Regions from separate parts of the Homo sapiens genome. Here region 1 is linked to region 2. Evidence: promoter capture Hi-C in 16 types of primary human blood cells and fetal thymus (Javierre and others, 2016). All regions are on one chromosome and are shown on one strand. The core of a region is centred on a gene start or on the middle of the fragment in contact, and the rest is flanking DNA. Distances in the headings are between cores, read along the strand shown.

Evidence for each region. The method cuts DNA at HindIII sites, captures the fragments that hold promoters and counts their contacts. A CHiCAGO score of 5 or more calls a contact.
Region 1: a contact is called between the fragment with the promoter of PC here and the fragment with the promoter of PITPNM1 in region 2, in 1 of 17 cell types (non-activated CD4 T cells). The highest score is 5.5, in non-activated CD4 T cells.

The regions. Positions count from the first base shown.
Region 1 is chr11:66,955,946-66,959,954 of GRCh38, forward strand. It overlaps PC (pyruvate carboxylase), which reads right to left and starts at 2,438. Exons shown (of 23, transcript NM_001040716.2): 1 at 2,377-2,438. RefSeq lists enhancers at 853-1,232, 2,396-2,445 and silencers at 2,096-2,195, 2,516-2,875. The HindIII fragment of the contact is 4,821 bases long and covers 1-3,198 here.
Region 2 is chr11:67,502,767-67,506,974 of GRCh38, forward strand. PITPNM1 (phosphatidylinositol transfer protein membrane associated 1) reads right to left here and starts at 2,597. Exons shown (of 24, transcript NM_004910.3): 1 at 2,422-2,597; 2 at 1,337-1,455. The coding sequence starts at 1,414. It overlaps CDK2AP2 (cyclin dependent kinase 2 associated protein 2), which reads right to left. Exons shown (of 4, transcript NM_005851.5): 4 at 3,731-4,208. The coding sequence ends at 4,179. RefSeq lists enhancers at 306-1,055, 1,056-1,805 and silencers at 1,584-1,683, 1,764-1,883, 1,894-2,053, 2,264-2,893. The HindIII fragment of the contact is 23,305 bases long and covers 1-4,208 here.

The sequences.
Region 1 (4,009 bases), core at 1,188-3,687, 550 kb before region 2:
TATTTTTAGCAGAGAAGGGGTTTCACCATGTTGGCCAGGCTGGTCTCGAACTCCTGACCTCAGGTGATCCACCCGCCTCGGCCTCCCAAAGTGCTGGGATTACAGGCATGAGCACCGCGCCCAGCCCCGTCTACCTTTGCATCTAATCTTGCTTCCTCAGTTTGGTTTCCAGTCACTGACTTACCTGCACCTTAGCAAATCCTAGTGCCCTCACCTGGTTACATCTCCTGTAGAGGCCTCTTCCCAGTGACCAATCAAGTTTCTTACACCCAACAGTGAAGCTGTTTCCCCCACATTCTCCTTCCACCTTCCTCAGCCTTCCTCTTCCAGTTCTAATTGCTTGAAACCTCTGTAACTGGCCAGGCATGATGGCTCATGCCTATAATCCCAGCACTTTGGGAGGTCGAGGTGGGCGGATCACCTGAGGTCAGGAGTTCAAGACCAGCCTGGCCAACATGGTGAAACCCCATCTCTACTAAAAATACAAAAAATAGCCAGGTGTGGTGGCATGCGCCTGTAATCCCAGCTACTCAGGATGCTGAGGCAGGAGAATCGCTTGAACTCGGGAGGCGGAGGTTGTGGTGAGCTGAGATCACACCGCTGCACTCCAGCCTGGGCGACAAGAGCGAAACTCCATCTCAAAAAACAAAAACAAAAAAACCTCTTTAACAAAACCTCTCCAGAATAAAACTTTCTAGCTGCTGAAATCCAATCACTGTTTCTCCACTGCAGCGGCATCAAAAAGAGGTCCACAACTCACCTCCTCCACGAAGCCTTCCCAAGCCCATCCCCTTCCAGGCCATTTCTCCTCTCTCTCGCTTTAGTGTGTGGTTTGCTGTGATTTACTGGCCTCTACTGAACTTCCTCTTCCATGTCCTCCTAGGGCCAATACCTCACCCACTAGGCTCTCTACAAACATCTGCAGCAGGCTGCCTTGCTGCTTAGGTTTTGTTTATTTTCTCTCTCCCCCAATGGGTTTGTCAGCAGTTGCAGGACAAGGATTGACCTCATCGCCCACGCTGTCTCTCGGCCCAGTGTAGGGATAGGAACACTGTAGGTGTGCAAAAGAATGTGATTAAGAGTTCAACAGTTAAGGAGAGCCTGCAGGCAGGAAGCTGTAGCTGCAAGTGAGAGAAATGCTGAGCACATCCACCCCCAGCACAAGTGTTTGCATCACATACAGGGAAAGGGTGCCTTGGGGGAGGCCAGCCAGGGCTGATGGTGGCAGTGGGTACGGGAGCAATAGGGAGGCAGATGGCAGGCACTCTGGAGGTTCTGGTTGTCATCAGCAAGTGTTGGTACTTCTCTGAGCCTGTTTTCTCAGCTGGAGAACGGGTAAGGAGCCCAGGCCTACCTCTTCTCACAAAATAAAGACACAATCTGATTTTTTAGAATTTCAGACGAGGCACGCCTGTAATCTCAGCACTTTGGGAAGCCAGGGCAGGCCGCTCGCTTGAGCGTAGGAGTTCGAGACCAGCCTGGGCAACATGACGGAACCTCGTCTCTACCAAAAAATACAAAAATTAGCTAGGCGTGGTGGCGCCCGCCTGTAGTCCCAGCACTGGGGGACTGTGGCAGGAGGGTCGCTTGAGCCCGGGAGGTCGAGACTGCAGTGAGCCGAGATCGCGCCACTGCACTCCAGCCTGGGTGGGTGACAGCAAGACCCTGTCTAAAAAAGAAAAGAAAACAAAAGAATCTCAAAGTTGCCAGGGACCTAGGGACTTGGCTTCCGACTCTGATGCGCTTTGTAAACTACTAAAAGCTGGAGAAATAAGGGGCTGAGCCCAGCCCCACCTCCTGAATGAGCGGCCTTGGGCGAATCACTGCGTCTGGGCGCCTGGAGCTTCCCCGTCTGAAACAAAGTAGAGGATCCTACGGGAGGCGGAGTGCGAGAGCAAGGAACAAGGAAAGCCCTCGCCTTACACGCCGCGGCTTCCTGCAGAGCTGAGCCACATCCAGTACGATGGGGACAACTTGGGCTCCCGATCCTGACAGACTTGGGTTCGAACCCTCAGGGACCTCGCGCGAGGCGCTTTAGTCAGTTTCTCCATCTGCAAAATGGGCCCGAGAGCAAGAATGAGGCAGCCCGCAGGCGGACGCTGCGGAGGGGCGCTCGGGGGCTGCAGCCGGGGGCGGGTCCGGGGGCGGGTCCAGCCGGCCGAGCCCCCGCGCGAGGGGGAGGGGCGCCGTCCGCTGCGTCGCGTCGCGCACCGCGCACAGCCCGTCGCTGTCTCCTCCAGCCGTCACTCGCGGAGCCCGCGCCGCCTTTGCGCGCGCGACCCTTACATAAGCGTCCCTCGCAGCGGTGCCGGCGCACGTCCACCCGCTCCGACCCGCCGCGGGAAGAGGACCGTGCGGAGCGCGGCGGACACTCACCTCCTCGCCGTCGCCAGTCCTCGCCGCCGCCTCTACCGCTGCTGCCTCCACTGACAGAGAACAGCTGCGGTCTCCGTGCAACCGAACTTGCTGCAGTCCCGGCCCCGCCTTACGGACTTCCTATTGGCCCAGACAGCCCAACCCCTCCCGTTATTGGGCAGTGTTCTCCGTCACTCCTCGCCCCTAGGCTCTGGACTCCTCCCTGTGCCCGCCTGTCCGTCACGTTTAAGCCTTGGCGCCCCACGTCAGCCCCGCCCCTCCCGTCCCCGGCGAGCGCCTGGATAAGTGGCGAGGCTGGGAGAGCCCGCCCCTGGCGCACCACCGCCTACTCCCTTGTCTCCGGAGCCTCACGTGGGCCGCCGGACCCTAGCCGACGCCCGCAATAGGCGGAAGTGGCCGGGCTGTGGCTCGCAGTTATTGGCTGTCGGCGGGGGTGGGGACGTTCGATTCATTCACCCGAGTAGCACGTGTCTCCCGAAGCTGCAAGCACAACAGTTCGCACTGGGGCTCAGGCATCCCGGCTAGACGCAGATACGCGCTGGCTAGCGGAGAAGAGGTCGCAGGAAAAGCTAACGTTAGCGAAGGGCAGGAGGAAGGAGAAGGCGCTTGTGCCACACGGGTTACATGACTATGTCCTTTAACAGCTGCGTAGATGATGATGGGGGTCTACAGTACGTCTGTGTGACCTTGGGCAAGCAACTTAACCTCTGAGTCTCGGTTTTGTCATCTGCAGAGCGAAGCTACTCAGGACCTAGGGGGTTTGGAAGCCTTGTTTGAGACACAAGACACTTGACAAGACCCAAGACACTTGTCAAAGAGGAAAGCTTTGACAAGTGGAACAAGTGACTGAGGCATAAGTCTCTGTCATCGAGGCTTATTAATCCAGTTTGAGGGCGTGCTCGGGAAAAACACGAACCACAGACACATCCGTGGTTGTTTTTCCGAAGAGGTTTTCGGGAGGTTTAGTATTTATGCATTTCCTTAAAGGGGGAATGAGGGGAAGGCATGTAGGAAGAAGGGCAAGTAGGCGATTAGGACAATAGTTACATTCCTATGGGACTTTAGCTAATGCCCGGTAAATCTACGTAAGATGAGATGAATGTCTGAAGAGAAAAAGAGAGTAAAGGAAGAGTCAGTTATGCAGATGTCTCTGAGTAGGTAGTTTTGACTTTGTTCTGCACCTGGGAAAATAAGCTTGTAATGACATTCTTATTGTGGAATTTTTAGGAGCTAGACTTAGATTGTAGACCTGAAGCTACAATTGACCTGTCCTTGTTTATGGGAGGCCAGCAAGAATTTACTTGTGAATGATCTGTGGGGGCAGCCCTTCCCAAATGCCTGAGGTTTTTACCTTTCCGTGTGGATATGGCTGATGCCTAATGCTAGTAACAGCTATTCTTTTGGAAGAGGGTGTTGCAGTGACTCAGCTTCAAGGCTTAATCTTCACTTTCGCATGAATTGGGGCGCTGGGGGGGGGTCCCGAGATTTTTACTTTCATTCACCGCTGCGTAAACTGGGGTCTGTGCCAACCAGGGGATAAGGGAGTGACCAAACAAACCAAAATCCTGCCTTCAAAGGAGAGCAGACAGATTAATATATATATATATATATATATTTTTTTTTTTTTTTTTTT
Region 2 (4,208 bases), core at 1,347-3,846:
TCTGGGATCCCCAGCTCAGCCTGGTGTTCTACACAGCTCTGGGGCCCTGGTCCCAGCCTTTTCAACTCCCTGAAACCAGACCCCGCCCCACCAAAGCTCCCTGGGATCAGAATCACAGATGCAGCCCAGCCCCGCATGGGGTCTGCAACCCAGCACTCAGTTGAGTCATTCAAGTATTCATTGAGTGTCTGCTCCACTCCAGGCAGTGTTTGGGATTATATCAATTGAGATATATTGATGAATAGAACAAAGATCCCTGCCCTCGTGGAACTTACATTCTAGTGGAAGGAGACAGACAAAAGGAAAAAGCAAATTATGTGGTGTGTTAGAAGGCGCTAGGTGCTATAGGAAAAGAAAGCCTAGAGTAGGGTATAGGTGATGAGGGTTGGGGGCTGCAGTTTTGATCTGATAGTCAGGGAAGGCCTTGCTAATAACACAATGTGACCATGGCTTGAACATGACTTTAAGGAGGTGAGGTAGGAGGAGGTGCTCAAGGCCGGGGGAAGCCAGTGCAGCCCCAAGGTGGGAGCATACTGGATGTGCTGGCAGGTGGCAAGGAGGCCGGGGTGGCTGGCAAGGAAGAAGGGACTAGGAGAGGAAAAGGGGCCTCCAGCTCTCAGAGGCCCTGACCCTGGCCCCCTCCCTCTCTGGGAGGCCCTGGCCGCCTCCCAATCCCAGCTCCGCCACACCCCTCAGAGCTTGAGAGCCCCCAGATCCTGCCTTCTATTGCTCCGGGGCTCAGATGGCCCTTTCAAGCCCGAGGCGGGGTCCGGGCCCTCTTGCTTTATGAGATTCTGGTCCTGCTGTGCTGGGGACAGATCTGGAGCAGACTCCCCCAGGCCCCGCACCAACCCGGCCACTGCTGAGGGCCTGCCCTGGCCCACTCTTCTCACTGCCCTACACCAGAGCCTCCTCGCCCTCCCATCCTTGCTGCCCTGTCCCTGCTCCAGGTTTGACACCTGGTCCTCACCACATCTCCCTGACCTCCAGGGATGGCCAGGACCCTCCACTTCTCCAGACCCCCTCCCGCCTTCCTCTGCCGCGGAGGCCCCCCTCCTCATTCTTGCCGCCTCCTGGGCGCTTTTTCCTTCCCCGATGGGATTACAGATCCTGAGGAGGATTACAGGAGATCAGAGGAGGGCTGGGCACTTAGCGGATGGGAAGCACCACTCGGCCCTCCTGCCCCTCTTCCCACAGTCCTTCCCCATTCCCACATCTGAAGGGGGGCCTCTCTTGCCTCCTCCGGGCTCCCAGCCGGTCCCAGCCCCGGGGCAGGGCTGGCGGGGTCGGCAGGGCTCCACCCCTTGCCCGGGTGCCCTCTCCCCGCCGCCCTCACCTGGATCATGTAGAGCTGGGCCACCTGGTACTCGTCCAGGCTCATGGGCAGCAGAATGTGGTATTCCTTGATGAGCATCCTGAAGGCGCTCGGCGGGCCGCGCGCGGCCTCCGCTCCTCCTGGCGCAGGGCACGGCGCGACAGTCAGTGCGGGGAGGCTGCGCGCGGCCCCGAGCCCTGCGCGCCGGCCGAGGGACTCAGGCCACGGGACCCCATGTCCGGGCCCGCCACGAGGGAGGCAGAGGCGAGCCTAGCACCGCCGCCCGCGCCGCCGGGGCCGGGAGCCGCAGCGAGGCTGAGCGCTGACCTCTTTTCCGCGCAGCCCCCGCCCCCCGCCCGCCCGTCGCCATGGCAACCGCGCGCTGACGCGGGCCCCCCGGAGCGCCAGGCTCCGGCCGGCGGGCGGGAGGGCCACCTCACCTCTCCCGCTGCGACCGCGTCCTAACCCCGGGAAACGGCATCCCTCTGGGCGCGCCCCCGAAGCCCCGGGGCCCCTCCTTCCGGGCCCGCCTTCCGCGACCGGCCCCTCGGGGACCCGCCCCTTGCATCCCCTTCCCGGAGTCGGCGGGGTCCCAAGTCCCCCACTCTCGGACGTCCACCTAGAGCTTTGTTCCCCGAGTGTCTCTGCGCGGAGTGGCCCAGTGCGCCCAGCATCTCTGCCAGGGTTCCCCACGCCCTGCACCCGAACCTACCTTCCGGGACCGGTAATCTCCTCCGCCCTCCAGATCTGCCTTCTTGGGCAGCCGGGTCCTCGACCTCCCCCTCCCAGCATCCTTCCTGGACCCCTGGCCCTCGCCGGCTCTCCACGCGCCTAGGCAGCCACTCCGTCCTCTTCCCAGGGGGTGAGCCCTCCTCAGGCTGAGGCCAGAGTGGCTCCACTTGGTATCCCACGGGCCATGGCCCTGGAGACCCGCTCCGTCCACCTGCGCCCCAGACTGGCACCGAGGTTCCGCTGCAGGCACCCCTCCATCCCCCACTCGCACCCCGCGAGCAAGCGAGAGGCCCCGTTGTCCCCACTTCCCTCTGCTCGCCGGCGTCCCGGTCCCCTGCCGCGCTCTTGGCCCGCCTGCCGACGCCCCGGCTCACCTCTAGCTTGAGGCGGGCGCCCCTCACCCAGCCCGGGCAGGGCCGGCCGGCCCGTGGGTCGGAGCCCGGAGCGCCCCCAGCCCCGGCCTCGGGTTCCAGCGGTGGCCGGACCCTCCCGAGGCGCAGTGCCGGCCCATGGCCCCGACCTTCCTCTCGATCCGCCCGCCGGCGCCCCTGCAGTCCCTCCCCGACGCCCGCCGCGTCACTGCGGCCGCCCCGCCCCCTTCCTGGGCCCGGCTGGCCCTCCCCACCCCGGCGGGGTCCGGGCAGCCCCGCCTGCAGCGGAGGAGGCAGGGAGGGAGGCCCCTGCCTTCCTTCCCCCGGGCAGTGGGAAAAAGGCCATTGCCTAAATTCTGGCTCTTCCTAGTCCCTCTGTGCTGATTGGGGTCCCCAAAGACTCTTAGTTCCTATCTCCACCCTAGCCCAGCCCTCCTGTGTGCAGTCACAGGGTGGTTTGATATGGGGGGTCCCAGGCCCACTCTCCTCTTCTCACTCTCTGCAGTCCTTAGATTTGGGACCCAGGGTTGAGGAAATGCCTCCCCACCAGTCTAGCCAGAAGCTGGTGGCTCTGACATGCCTCCACCTAGGGCTGGGCTCGGCTCCAGGGCCCCAGGCCTCTATGGTCACCCAGCTACACGCCCAGGCAGAAACGGGCTGTCACTGTGAGTGGCTGGGCTAGCCCCTGCATGGTGCCACAAAGCCTCCCCCACCTCTGCCTTCCGGGTCCACAAGTCCGGTCACCCAGCCACCCGGAGTCTGGGCAAAGGCCTCACGAGGCACCCCAAGGCTGGGTTCATGGGATCCCACCCAGCCTGCTACAAGGTGCTGGGGCAGTGACGGCAGCACCCCGCCAGCCCCTCCCCTTGACACTGAGGCCAAGTGCTGGAAGCAGCAGTGCCCTTTCTCTCTGAGAAGTCAGAGACCTTCAGGGCTGATTCAGAGGCTGGGGTGTTGTCAGGGCATTAGGGCGTGTGAGGGAGTGGCTTACGTGAACTGGCATTTCCATGCTGCCAGGCATCACCGCCAATCCAGAGGAAGCGCCCTCCAGGCCCAGGCTGCCCACAGCGCCAAGGGCTGTGGAAGCAGCCAGGCCCTGTGCTGCCCCCTGGTGGCACCACAGGAAGGCCCAGGGCTCTCAGCGCCACGGCTGGGGCGGAGAGGGCCCAGGTCCCACCAAAGGCTGATGGCCTACAGAGGCAAGTCAAACCTCATTTAATCACACCCTCCCCATCCATAGTCTCCTCTTCCCCTGTCTCTGCCTGGCCCACCCAGGCTTAGCTGAAGAACCAGACCCAGAAAGGCTCAGAGCTGAGAGCACAACTCCAAATCATCTTTTATTAATATAAAAAGGGCATATTTAGCAAAAGACACACAGATAAAAGAGTCACTATGGCTCAGGACACAAGGCAGGGAGGTGCCAGGCCTGTGCCCCTGCTGGGGGAGAAGGAGGCTCGGGACAAAGTGGGAGAAGTGCTGGGAAGGGCTGAGCGGTAGGGGCCACAAAAGTTCCGGTGGGCAACACTGTCGGCAGGTCATGGGTGGGACTCATGGGGACCTCGCTGCTAACTCTTGTTGTGGGGGGGTGTCCTTAGTGCTGCCACCTGGAGGGCCACTCCTTGGTTCCTGGAGGGGACCCACCAAGGGACACAGGACAGGAAGCCCAGGATGGTTAGTGCAACTCGGGATGAAGGCCAGGGAGAAGCGGGTGCTCTGCAGTGGCCGGATAGGTCCAGACGCTGAGGCCGAGGCGCTTCCTGTTACGTGCGGGCGTTCCGCTCTGTCTCTGC